Regions from separate parts of the Homo sapiens genome. Here region 1 is linked to region 2. Evidence: promoter capture Hi-C in human tissues and cell types (Jung and others, 2019). All regions are on one chromosome and are shown on one strand. Each heading gives the region's core, a stretch centred on a gene start or on the middle of the fragment in contact. The rest is flanking DNA. Distances are from core to core; before and after follow the strand shown. Region 1 overlaps ZCCHC2 (zinc finger CCHC-type containing 2). Region 2 holds the start of BCL2 (BCL2 apoptosis regulator).

The links. Contacts are between HindIII fragments. The study calls those that stand out against the background at their distance.
Region 1: a fragment that was not itself captured here is called in contact with the fragment with the promoter of BCL2 in region 2 in 1 of the 25 tissues and cell types used here (dorsolateral prefrontal cortex).

What each region holds. Positions count from the first base shown.
Region 1 is chr18:62,565,291-62,570,789 of GRCh38, forward strand. It overlaps ZCCHC2 (zinc finger CCHC-type containing 2), which reads left to right. Exons shown (of 14, transcript NM_017742.6): 12 at 4,813-4,941. Among named protein-coding and RNA genes, the nearest start is that of ZCCHC2, 45 kb to the left of the region's middle. The HindIII fragment of the contact is 3,379 bases long and covers 117-3,495 here.
Region 2 is chr18:63,317,831-63,323,734 of GRCh38, forward strand. BCL2 (BCL2 apoptosis regulator) reads right to left here and starts at 1,939. Exons shown (of 3, transcript NM_000633.3): 1 at 1,344-1,939; 2 at 252-1,122. The coding sequence starts at 836. RefSeq lists silencers at 561-800, 2,156-2,345, 2,506-2,715, 2,746-2,815 and an enhancer at 3,707-3,796. The HindIII fragment of the contact is 10,586 bases long and covers 1-5,904 here.

The sequences.
Region 1 (5,499 bases), core at 556-3,055, 750 kb before region 2:
TGGGGGTGGAGATTGCCTTTGCCTCAGTGATTCTCACCTGCCTCTCCCTTCTGGCAGCAGGAGTCTCCCAGGTTGTTCTTCTCCAGCCAGTTCCAACTCAGGAGACAGGTCCCAAGGCCATGGGAGATCTCTCCTGTGGCTTTGCCGGCCGCTCATGAGAGTGTTTTTGTGTAAAGTATTTTTTAGAATACTGTTGACTTCTTCATGATTTAATAACCATCCTTTGCGAAGTTTTATGAGGCTTTAGGGGAATGTCAACCCTCAAATTTTTGTTATACTAGATGGCTTCCATTTACCCACCACTATTTTAAGGTCCCTTTATTTTTAGGTTCAAGGTTCATTTGACTTGAGAAAGTGCCCTTCTGCAGCTTCATTGATTTTGTTTATCTTCACTATTAATTGTAACGATTAAAAAAGAATAAGAGCACGCAGACCTCTAGGAGAATATTTTATCCCTGGGTGCCCCTGACACATTTATGTAGTGATCCCACAAATGTGATTGTTAATTTAAATGTTATTCTAATATTAGTACATTCAGTTGTGATGTAATATGAATAACCAGAATCTATTTCTTAAAAGTTTTGAGTATATTTTTCAACTAGATATTTGTATAGAAAGACTGAATAGTGATGAAGAAAAAAAATAGTTACCTTTTGAATCTGAAATAATCTGGGCCAGACACGGTGACTCACACCTGTAATCCCAGCACTTTGAGAGGCCAAGGTGAGTGGATCACCTGAGGTCAGGAGCTCGAGACCAGCCTGACCAACATGATGAAAACCTGTCTCTACTAAAAATACGAAAATTAGCCAGGCGTGGTGGCACATGCCTGTAATCTCAGCTACTCGGGAGGCTAAGGCAGGAGAGTCGCTTGAACCCGGGAGGCAGAGGTTGCAATGAGCCACGACTGCGCCATTGCACTCCAGCCTGGGCAACAAGAGTGAAACTCCATCTCAAATAAATAAATAAATAATAAATTAAAAAACTAAAATCATCTGGCCAACTCATTGAAGCATTGGAAGTGGGAGTAAAATAACATGGACAAAACCCATCTTGTCTGTAGAAGGATCTTGTAACACTTACTATCTCTGAGGTTCCCTCTGGTGGCGATGGCAGCTTAACGGAGGAGGAACAAGCTAAATGAGGAAGACAGAAGTCTGTCGGTGGACATTTGGAGATTGATGCTGCTGGCCCTCCCTGTCTCTGTTCCTTCTCTTTCTAGTTCATTTTCCATACTGCTGCCGTGTTTGTTTTCTAAAATACCATTTTCTGAATGAAATTCCTGCCCTCCACAAGCTCACTCTGTCTCTTGTCTCACAGTGTTTGGGAACTACTGCTCACTAAAGAAGTTTGCAACTGTTTTTTCGATGTTAGCCCATTTCCAGAGGAGAAGCACGTGGACGTTGGTCAGAGACAGTTAGGGTTTGAGTGTTGTGCTCCCCCAGTTTATTAAGCATGTGACCTCTCTGATGCCTTTGTTTGCTCATTTGTAAAACAGGAGTAATGCCTGCTTCAGCAGATTGTAAGAATTACATGTAAAAACATGAAGAGCATTTTCCTAGTTCCAAGTACCTAGGTGTTCACTGCAGCAATTTAGTTCCTTTTCCTTGTTCTAATAAATTAGAGGGAAACATACATTGTATAGGTTATTAAGAACTTTGTAACAGCATCACAAACTCCCATTCATTTTTTTCCTTAATTTTCAAGTGTTATGAAAATAACAACCTCAGCGTATTTTTCAATTTTATCTATTTTCTCCTCTATATCCGTCACCGATTTGTATGTATTTACATTTATAAAATGACTGAATGAAATATTTTTTGTACAGCTTGTCTTATTGATATCAAGTGCAGCGCAGATGTATGCCAATTCCAACTTTTAAAAAACCCCTCTGTGTATTAATTTTTCTTTGAAATATTAAGGCACCAAGGAAGAATTGTCTTTAAGCATTCAGTAAACTCAGTACGTGCCTAAGGATTTTTTTATGGAACAACAGCTCATATCATAAATTGGAGAGACATTGTCTTGAAGCTGAAAATACTGAGTCTTTCTGATTAGCAGGTTGTTTGGATCTTTAAATAATACATTTTAGCTTAAGATTTGTATTGTTTTACTTCTTAAAAATTTATTATTAAATTTAAGTTTTAACTTCTGTTTTGAGTGATAATCCATTTATGTAGCTCAGAATTTCAAAAGAAAACAAAGATCGCTCCCAGCCCTCCTCTGTGCTGGCTCCTGCCAGGACGCAGTCAGCGCCGTCAGCTGTCTGTGTTGTTGGAGTGTCTTTTCTGTTAAAACCCAAGCTTTCTGAAAGTCTGTCTTCTGAAGAGGTGCATATTACCTCATATAGAGCGTTAAGAATGCTCACCATGGCCAGGCGCGGTGGCTCACGCCTGTAATCCCAGCACTTTGGGAGGCTGGGGCCCGGTGGATCACTTGAGGTCAGGAATTTGAGACCAGCCTGGCCATCATGGTGAAACCCTGTTTCTACTAAAAATATAAAAATTAGCCAGATGTGGTGGTGCACACCTGTAATCCCAGCTACTCGGGAGACTGAGGCAGGAGCATCACTTGAACCCGGGAGGTGGAGGTTACAGTGAGCCGAGATTGCACCACTGTACTCCAGCCGGGGCGACAGAATGAGACTCTGTCTCAAAAAAAAAAAAAAAGAATGCTCATCATTGTAGTTTATTGCCCAGTGTTTCTTCCACCCCACTCTTCTGTTGCCAATTGTGGCACCAAAAAATTTAGAGGGAAATGAGATGCTTGATCTCTCAGTTTCTTGTAAAAGATTTAGAAGGTCTCTAGCTTCGTTTAATATCCCAGATGAAATATGTGGTTCTGTTGCCTATGATTTATTTAAATGAGTCTTAACTCTAACAGACTTCTATTGTTTATAATTACCAATTTCCAGTATTTTTAGTGTTAGAATAGTGGTTTATGTTTTACTTTTTGTTTTTATTATGTGCAAGACCCTTTATCATTTGAGACATGACAAATTCAGTTTGTGTGTCTTTTTAAAAGGGCAATTTGTGGAGTATCCTTTGGCATAATTGGTCTGTCTTCACTTTCCACATCCCCTGAATCTCTAGAGGATCACATAATTTCTGATTATAAAAGTTCTTAAGGTACCACACAATTCTGAAGTACCTTCTGAATTATCAAAAAAAAGTTACGTTAGTATAGATTTAGATTTATGTATTCAGTTCTTTGGAAGCTGCGGTTTTGTATATGGCAATTCGTGATTAGAATATTCACCAGCTTGCACAGTGTAAAGAAAATAGTTTTGTAAATTATGCCATTTGGAGAGGTAGCTGCTTTTTTTAAAACATATTCTGAAATTTGCTCTTTGAACTATAGTCTACTGTAGTTTCACTGTCTGCATCATTTTGATGAACGCTACCCCTGAGGTTCCTTTTCAGTCCATTTCTAGTTTGAGAATATCCTGTTGAATCTTTGATTCTCTTGATCTTGGGTTGTTCATTTTGTTATATGCTGGTTGAAATATTTATATGCAAGACTCATGCAAGTTCTATAGGTTTCATCATTAGTCCAATTTAATGACAACTTATTTGGCCACTATGGCCCGTTAGCTTGTCTTCAAGCAGCCATTGGTGGTGTTGACTTGCATCCCTTTAGTCGCCTTATGATGGGTCATTCAGGGCCTGTTGCTGTGTAGGTATCCTCCAGGTAACTTTTCTGTAAAATTGTTACTTGCCCATGAACTCCTCTGCCACTTTTCCTTCTAGCCTCATAAGATTTTGTGCAGTTTTCCCTTGACAGTTTGACATTTATTACTCAGAAGGAATTTAGCAACATCAACATTCCTAATGACTTTATTTTTCTTCAATATTCACCTAACATTTGAGTGGCTGGGCTAATCTAGGTCATGTTTAACAGTCTTAACACTGTTACAAATTTATCCCAGCCAAAACCACAAGTCAGTTGCCTGCATTGCTCATTATACAAATTGTGCCTTTTCTCTGACACATATTTTGCCCGTGCAATTAATACCCATTATCTTTTACTGGTTCTACCAGTTGGCACAGAAATGATTCACTAATCTATAGTTCTTAAGAAGCCTCTGGAATCCCTTATTTGGGGATTTATACACCAAACATATATTGAATGCTTGCTGTAAGGCAGAATTACGCTAGCTACTGGGTTTACAGAGATAAGAGAATATTTCCCTCAGTCAGGGCCACTACAGGAAAAAAAAAATCCAAAGTTTGTATCTCTTGTCCAATACTAGATACACCGATAGTCCCTCCTTATGTGCTCAAAACAGATACGGCTAGTTGGTCATGGCAGGTCCTGTCACCACCTCACACTACCTCAGTATAGGCTTGAACTTGGCAGAACTCAGGGGACTATTCAGTCTACTAGATGGGAAGCATTTTATTATTTTAAATACTCCAAGTAATTTTCATTGAATAGGCATTTTGGCAGCCCTTTTCTTCTTGAGTTCTTTTAAAGAATGAATTTTCCAGCAAGCTCTTAAGAGTTAAAATATCTAGACTTAGAAAGTAGCTCAAAGTGATATTATTGGACAGACCCTGCAACCAACCTTAACTCGTTTTTTCTTTGAAGTCAGTAAGATTGACTTATTCTGTGCATTGTTTTAAGGATATATTTATTAAGTATTTTCTATTAGAATTGTAATTTAATCAGTTTAGATCAAGGACAAGCTTTTTTAGATGGTTGTGGGGAAACTGAAGAAAATATAGCTAAAATTAATTTCTAATGATTCAACTTAGAAATTAATTTAAAATGACTTAACATGATTTTTTAAAATAGTGTTGTTATTTTTAGATGTGAATTTGGACATTGGCTCTGGACATGACACATGTGGAGAAACATCTTCAGAGAGTTACAGTTCTCCATCTAGTCCCCGACATGATGGAAGAGAAAGTTTTGAAAGTGAAGAAGAGAAAGACAGAGGTTTGCTCTTTGAAGTGGGAGTATTGTTGGCATGGCAGGGGTGGGGAAGTGGAGGGAAATGTGTGTTGTTTCTTCATGTCAAAGTCAAACAAGGAATTTTATGATCCTATAAATGCCATTAACTGATTTTAAATGTAAAGTCGTTATAAAGGATGTCGTATAGATCATTGCCTTAGAAATTCCTAACAATGTTGATTTGATAAACATATTTCACTGCATATGAAGTTAAGTAGGATGAAGACAGGATCATAATGAGGTAGAGTTAGTGTAGAAAGAAGGAAAATGTGTCTTGTTAGATGCATATGTATGTTTATGCTCTTTACGTCCTCTCGATTGATTGACCCTTTTATCATTTTGGGATATCCTTCTTTGTCTCTAGTAACAATTTTTGTCTTAAAGTCTATTTTGTCTGAGAATAGTATAGTCGATCCAGCATTCTAGGTACTGCTTGCACAGTATTTTGTTTTCTATCCTTTTACTTTAAACCTATTTGTGTCTTTAAATATAAATTTTGTCTCTTGTAGACAACATATAGTTAGATTATGGTTTTTTATTCAT
Region 2 (5,904 bases), core at 689-3,188:
ACAAACGCTAGATCTTTGGATCTCCACGACTAGCAAGCAAGTTAAAGACTTTTAGATGGCAGGCGTTATCGGTCAGGTTGGGAGTGAACGCTTTGTCCAGAGGAGGAGGTAGGGACGCCGGGAAGCAACAACTCTGATTTTATTTCGCCGGCTCCACAGCCTCCCATTGCCCCAGGAGCCCACCCGCACTCCAACCCCCGCATCTCGGACCTGTGGCCTCAGCCCAGACTCACATCACCAAGTGCACCTACCCAGCCTCCGTTATCCTGGATCCAGGTGTGCAGGTGCCGGTTCAGGTACTCAGTCATCCACAGGGCGATGTTGTCCACCAGGGGCGACATCTCCCGGTTGACGCTCTCCACACACATGACCCCACCGAACTCAAAGAAGGCCACAATCCTCCCCCAGTTCACCCCGTCCCTGAAGAGCTCCTCCACCACCGTGGCAAAGCGTCCCCGCGCGGTGAAGGGCGTCAGGTGCAGCTGGCTGGACATCTCGGCGAAGTCGCGGCGGTAGCGGCGGGAGAAGTCGTCGCCGGCCTGGCGGAGGGTCAGGTGGACCACAGGTGGCACCGGGCTGAGCGCAGGCCCCGCGGCGGCGCCGGGGGCAGCCGGGGTCTGCAGCGGCGAGGTCCTGGCGACCGGGTCCCGGGATGCGGCTGGATGGGGCGTGTGCCCGGGCTGGGAGGAGAAGATGCCCGGTGCGGGGGCGGCCCCCGGGGGCGCGGCGCCCACATCTCCCGCATCCCACTCGTAGCCCCTCTGCGACAGCTTATAATGGATGTACTTCATCACTATCTCCCGGTTATCGTACCCTGTTCTCCCAGCGTGCGCCATCCTTCCCAGAGGAAAAGCAACGGGGGCCAACGGCACCTCTCGCCCCAGCTCCCACCCCACGGCCCCCAGAGAAAGAAGAGGAGTTATAATCCAGCTATTTTATTGGATGTGCTTTGCATTCTTGGACGAGGGGGTGTCTTCAATCACGCGGAACACTTGATTCTGGTGTTTCCCCCTTGGCATGAGATGCAGGAAATTTTTATTCCAATTCCTTTCGGATCTTTATTTCATGAGGCACGTTATTATTAGTAAGTATTGTTAATATCAGTCTACTTCCTCTGTGATGCTGAAAGGTTAAAGAAAAAACAAACTAATAAGTAAAAAATCAGGTGCGTTTCCCTGTACACACTGAGTGAAAGCAGGGCATACACACTACAAGTAACACGGCTAAAAAGAATGTATTAAGCTGCCTGGAAATTAAATTTACTCGAATGCACTTTAAGTAAAAAATCTCAAAGGTTTCCATTGAAAGTTACATTAAACCAATTTCCTGTGCAGAGAACTTACTTGTATTTTTTAAGTACAGCATGATCCTCTGTCAAGTTTCCTTTTTGTAAAACCAAAACAAATGCATAAGGCAACGATCCCATCAATCTTCAGCACTCTCCAGTTATAGCTGATTTGAAACTTCCCAATGAATCAGGAGTCGCGGGGAGAGGGAGTAAAAATTAGGAGGATTTCCAGATCGATTCCCAGACTTCTGCTTCACAGAAATGTCAATCCGCAGGAATCCCAACCGGAGATCTCAAGAGCTCGAGAAAAAAAAAAGGCAGCGGCGGCGGCAGATGAATTACAATTTTCAGTCCGGTATTCGCAGAAGTCCTGTGATGTTTTCCCCTTCTCGGCAATTTACACGCGCGCACACACGCGCGGGCACAGGCATGAATCTCTATCCACGGGACCGCTTCACGCCTCCCCAGGAGAGAGACAGGGGAGAGGGGACGATGAAGGAGCCGGGGACGGAGGCAGGAATCCTCTTCTGATTAAACTCCGAACAGCAAATGCATTTTCCGAAAAGCTGCTGGATAAATGAAGGCAGGACGCGCCTGGCCCGCCGGTGCCGAGCGCTAGAAGCCCGCGCTGTGTGTGGTGCGGCGAGGGGTGGGGAGAAGGAGGTGGTGGGGGAGGGTTTTATTTTTTCCCTCTTTTCCTAAAAAGGATGACTGCTACGAAGTTCTCCCCCCTGGACCCCCTCTTCCGCTGCACCCCACCGGCGCACCCCGCCTCCGGGCTGCGCACCCTTTCTCCTCCTCCTGGTCCTGCGCGGCGGCGCTGGCTACGGCCGCCTCCCGGAGCTCCCGCCGCGCAGCCCGCTCCGAGCGCTGACGGCCGCCGGCAGGGAGGGCCCGGAGCCCCGGCACCTTCGCTGGCAGCGGCGGCGGCGGCAGCGCGGCGGGGCCACGGAGAGCGGCGGGCGGGAGCGCGGCGGGCGGGCGGGCAGGCGGCGCGGAGGGGCGGGCGCGGGAGGAAGGGGGCGGGAGCGGGGCTGTGGTGCCTGTCCTCTTACTTCATTCTCTGCACAGCCCGACCGGTTTCCTGTGCGTAACGTCACACGGTTCATTCAAAAAAAGAAGAAAGAAAGAGCCCTCCTCTGAGCCACCCGACCGCCCCCTCCGCCCCGCTCCCTGGCCCGGGTTAAAGGCGCCGCGGCAGGCCCGGGAGTGGCGCGTCCCGCCGGGGGCACATGGCGCGCGGGGCCGCGGCCGGGGAGGGCGCGTCCGGGCCGGCCACCCGCCCGCTCCGCTGCGCCCGCGGGGCCCGGCCAGTGGGTGGCGCGGGCGGCACAGGCCTCCCGCGCGGCCGCGGCGCGGTGGGTGTGCGCGGGGCCTTCTGCTCAGGCCTGCGGCAGGCCGCGTGCGGACTTGGTGGTCGCTGGGGTCCGCGACGGGGTGGGGGCTCCCGGGGAACCGCACGCGGCCGGGCCGGGCGGACGACGGAGTGCGGAGGGGGGCGGCTGGCGGGAGGGTGCGCCATGAAAACAAGGGCTGGAAAAGCGCCGGGAACCGCCTGGACCCTTTCTGGCCGTGTGAGTGTGTGTGGAGTGTGTGTGTGTGTGTGTGTGTGTGTGTGTGTCTCGCCTGGACCTTTTCTAGCCGTGTATGTGGGAGTGTGTGTGTCGCCTGGACCCTTTCTAGCCGTGTATGAGAGTGTGTACACGCGCCTACACACACACACGTTGTGTTACCGGCGCTCGGCCGCCGGGGGAAGACCCAGGCCAATGCCGCCCCCCACCGCCCCCAGCAGTGGGACCTCAGCGCTGCCCTGCTGTGAAGACAGGTGACTCTGCACGTTTTAAGCAATGTCTAGGGACGCCCCGAGCGTGGTGTTTACTTTCAAGTAGCTTCCTAGGTGTCCGCGCACTACACACGCACGCGCATCCCCGCCCGTGTCCACCTGAACACCTAGTCCGTGGCCCAGGCCATGCAGAACTCAGCGCTCCAGGGAAGGGGTTTATCAAGGGCTTTACGACAGTTTAAGTCAATGTTTTCCCTCTGTCCCTAACACCTTTTACACTGGTTTAGTGCTACACGATGAGGACTTCCATATAGTAACTTTCAGGCCCACCGTCCTAACGCTGGGGTGGGTGGGCTCCTAAAGGTCTCCACCTTTGCCTCGTAGCCAATCCTAGTTGGCCGCACTTTCTCAAATGAGGTACATAGATACACACATACACATTCACACTCGCAGACGTGTGTACGCGCAAGCAGACAGTTTTAAATTAATCAGCATGAATAGCCCCTAGCAAAAAAGGACAAGAGGACAAACAAGTTGCACGTGTGTATTTTTATCTCCAAGAGTCTTTGACAAAGCACCAAGAAAAGAAAAAGGTCTTCTAGAAGCACAGCGGCTTACTTAATAGGGCTCGAGTGCAAATATATAGGGACACTGGATTATTGGGGTCAAGAAAGATGACAAATGAGTACTACAATGTGTACAAATATGCTATGACTTTTTTTTTTTTTTTGAGACAGAGTCTTGCTCTGTTGTATCTTGGAGGCTGGTGTGCAGTGGTGCGATCTCAGCTCACTGCAACCTCTGCCTCCCAGGCTCAAGCAATTCTGCCTCAGCCTCCTGAGTAGCTGGGATTACACGTGCACGCCACTACGCTCTGCTAATTTTTGTATTTTTAGTAGAGACGGGGTTTCGCCATACTGGCCAGGCTGGTCTCGAACTCCTGACCTCGTTATCCGCCTGCCTCAGCCTCCCAAAGTGCTGGGATTACAGACATGAGCCACTGTGCCCTGCCTGACATCTTTATTTTGTCTCATTCCTACTCTAAAATCAAAACATTCTTTAAAAAGCCAGAAAAGCACACCAAATTATGATTTTTTTAATTTTTACTTAGTTGGCCTTTTTTTTTTTTTTTTAAGAGATGGCTTTTGCTATGTTGCCCAGGCTGGACTCGAACTTCTGGGCTCGAAGGATTCTCCCACCTCAGCCTCATGAATAGCTGGGACTATACGCACTGCCATCTCTCTTGGGTGTTTTTATTTTATTTCTTCATTTATTGTATCCCATCAGCCCAACAAGCCAACTTCTCTCACATAGGAATGGGGGCCTGGGTACAAATTTCTTATCCAGGCAAGAGGGGATGAAAGGAGATCCTCCTTCTTGCCCTTCTGATGGTTGGGACAGAGTCCCTTTTATGCGCGTGGGAGGTGTTTTGGTCTGGATAGACACTGGGTATAGATTGACCTAGAATAAATGTTCTCACATAAATTCATACCAATTGCACAACAGTATGGTTTAGAAATCTTGAAAGCGTATTTTAAAGCCCCAAAATTACCTAAGAGGAATTGAAAGGCTTCAAGCTCCTAATACTCAGCATATGAGTGAGGAAATGATAGGACAAACCTGCAAAAGAAACTGTACTTCTGCAAAGGGGGCAGCCAGAAGGAAACGGATCCCCTACTTCCAGAGAAAGAAAAGCTGACTGATTTTCGTCTTCCTTTGCTCCCACAGAGCCTCACTCTATGGATTTTCCCAGACTGATTCCTTATGTGGCATCTTGGCTATAATCAGTCTTGAGACAGGTCTGTATTGCAGTCTTTGGCTAGGGGTTATATTTTCCCTGGGAATGTTCTAGATACTCTTTCAAATGAAAGAGTGAAACCATTCCTGCGTTCAGATTCCATGTTTATTAGATTCCATTTTAAAGCATAAGGGCAAGTATTCCCAGGAAGTATGTGACATTGACTACTCGTCTTTGGGCAATGCTGAGGTGGGGGAGGGAACACCAGCCTGAGGCAGGAGTAACTGGATTTGAATCCTAGATCTATGCCTGAGACCTTCCAACAACCTTACAAACATATGCACAGTGGACTTTTCACTTTCCAAGATGTTTTCTACTTGTAAGAGCCAATGGATGACCCTTTTGGCAGCTTTACCTGGTTGGATTCTACAAGTAGCGTGGCACCAGGAAGAGAAAAAAAACAAGATGCAGGGAATGGAGATTGTATCAAGAGTCTGAATGGCCTGTGTTTTCTTTCCGTCTTCATTCCCCAGGCCACCAAACAAAAAGCTTTTGATTGCCAGTTTTCGCCACCTGCTGGTTGTTTCACAGCGTTACTCTCTTCATCCATCCAAGAAAGTTCTTTCATCCATCATCAATATAAATATTCTCCAAGTTTATGAAATTCAAAAGGTACATTATTCTAACATGAACATACTAATGTTTAATATAGGTATGTATCGGCCAGGTGTGGTTGCTCATGCCTGTAATCTCAGCACTTTGGGAGGCTGCGGTGGGTGTATTGCTTGAGGCCAAGAGTTTGAGACCAGCCTGCACAACATGACAAAACTCTATCTCCACAAAAAATACAAAAATTAGCGGGGCATGGTGGTGTGTGCCTGTAGTCCCATCTACTCTGAAGGCTGAGATAGGACGATCACTTGAGCCCAGGAGGTGGAGGCTGTAGTGAGCTGTGATCACACCACTGCACTGCAGCCTGGGTGACAGACTGATACCCTGTCTCAAAAAAAAAAAGAAAAGAAAAGAAAAAAAAAATCATGTGTGTGTATCAAATCTTCCCAGCTAGTAAACTTTTTATTGAAAATGTGGGTAGAA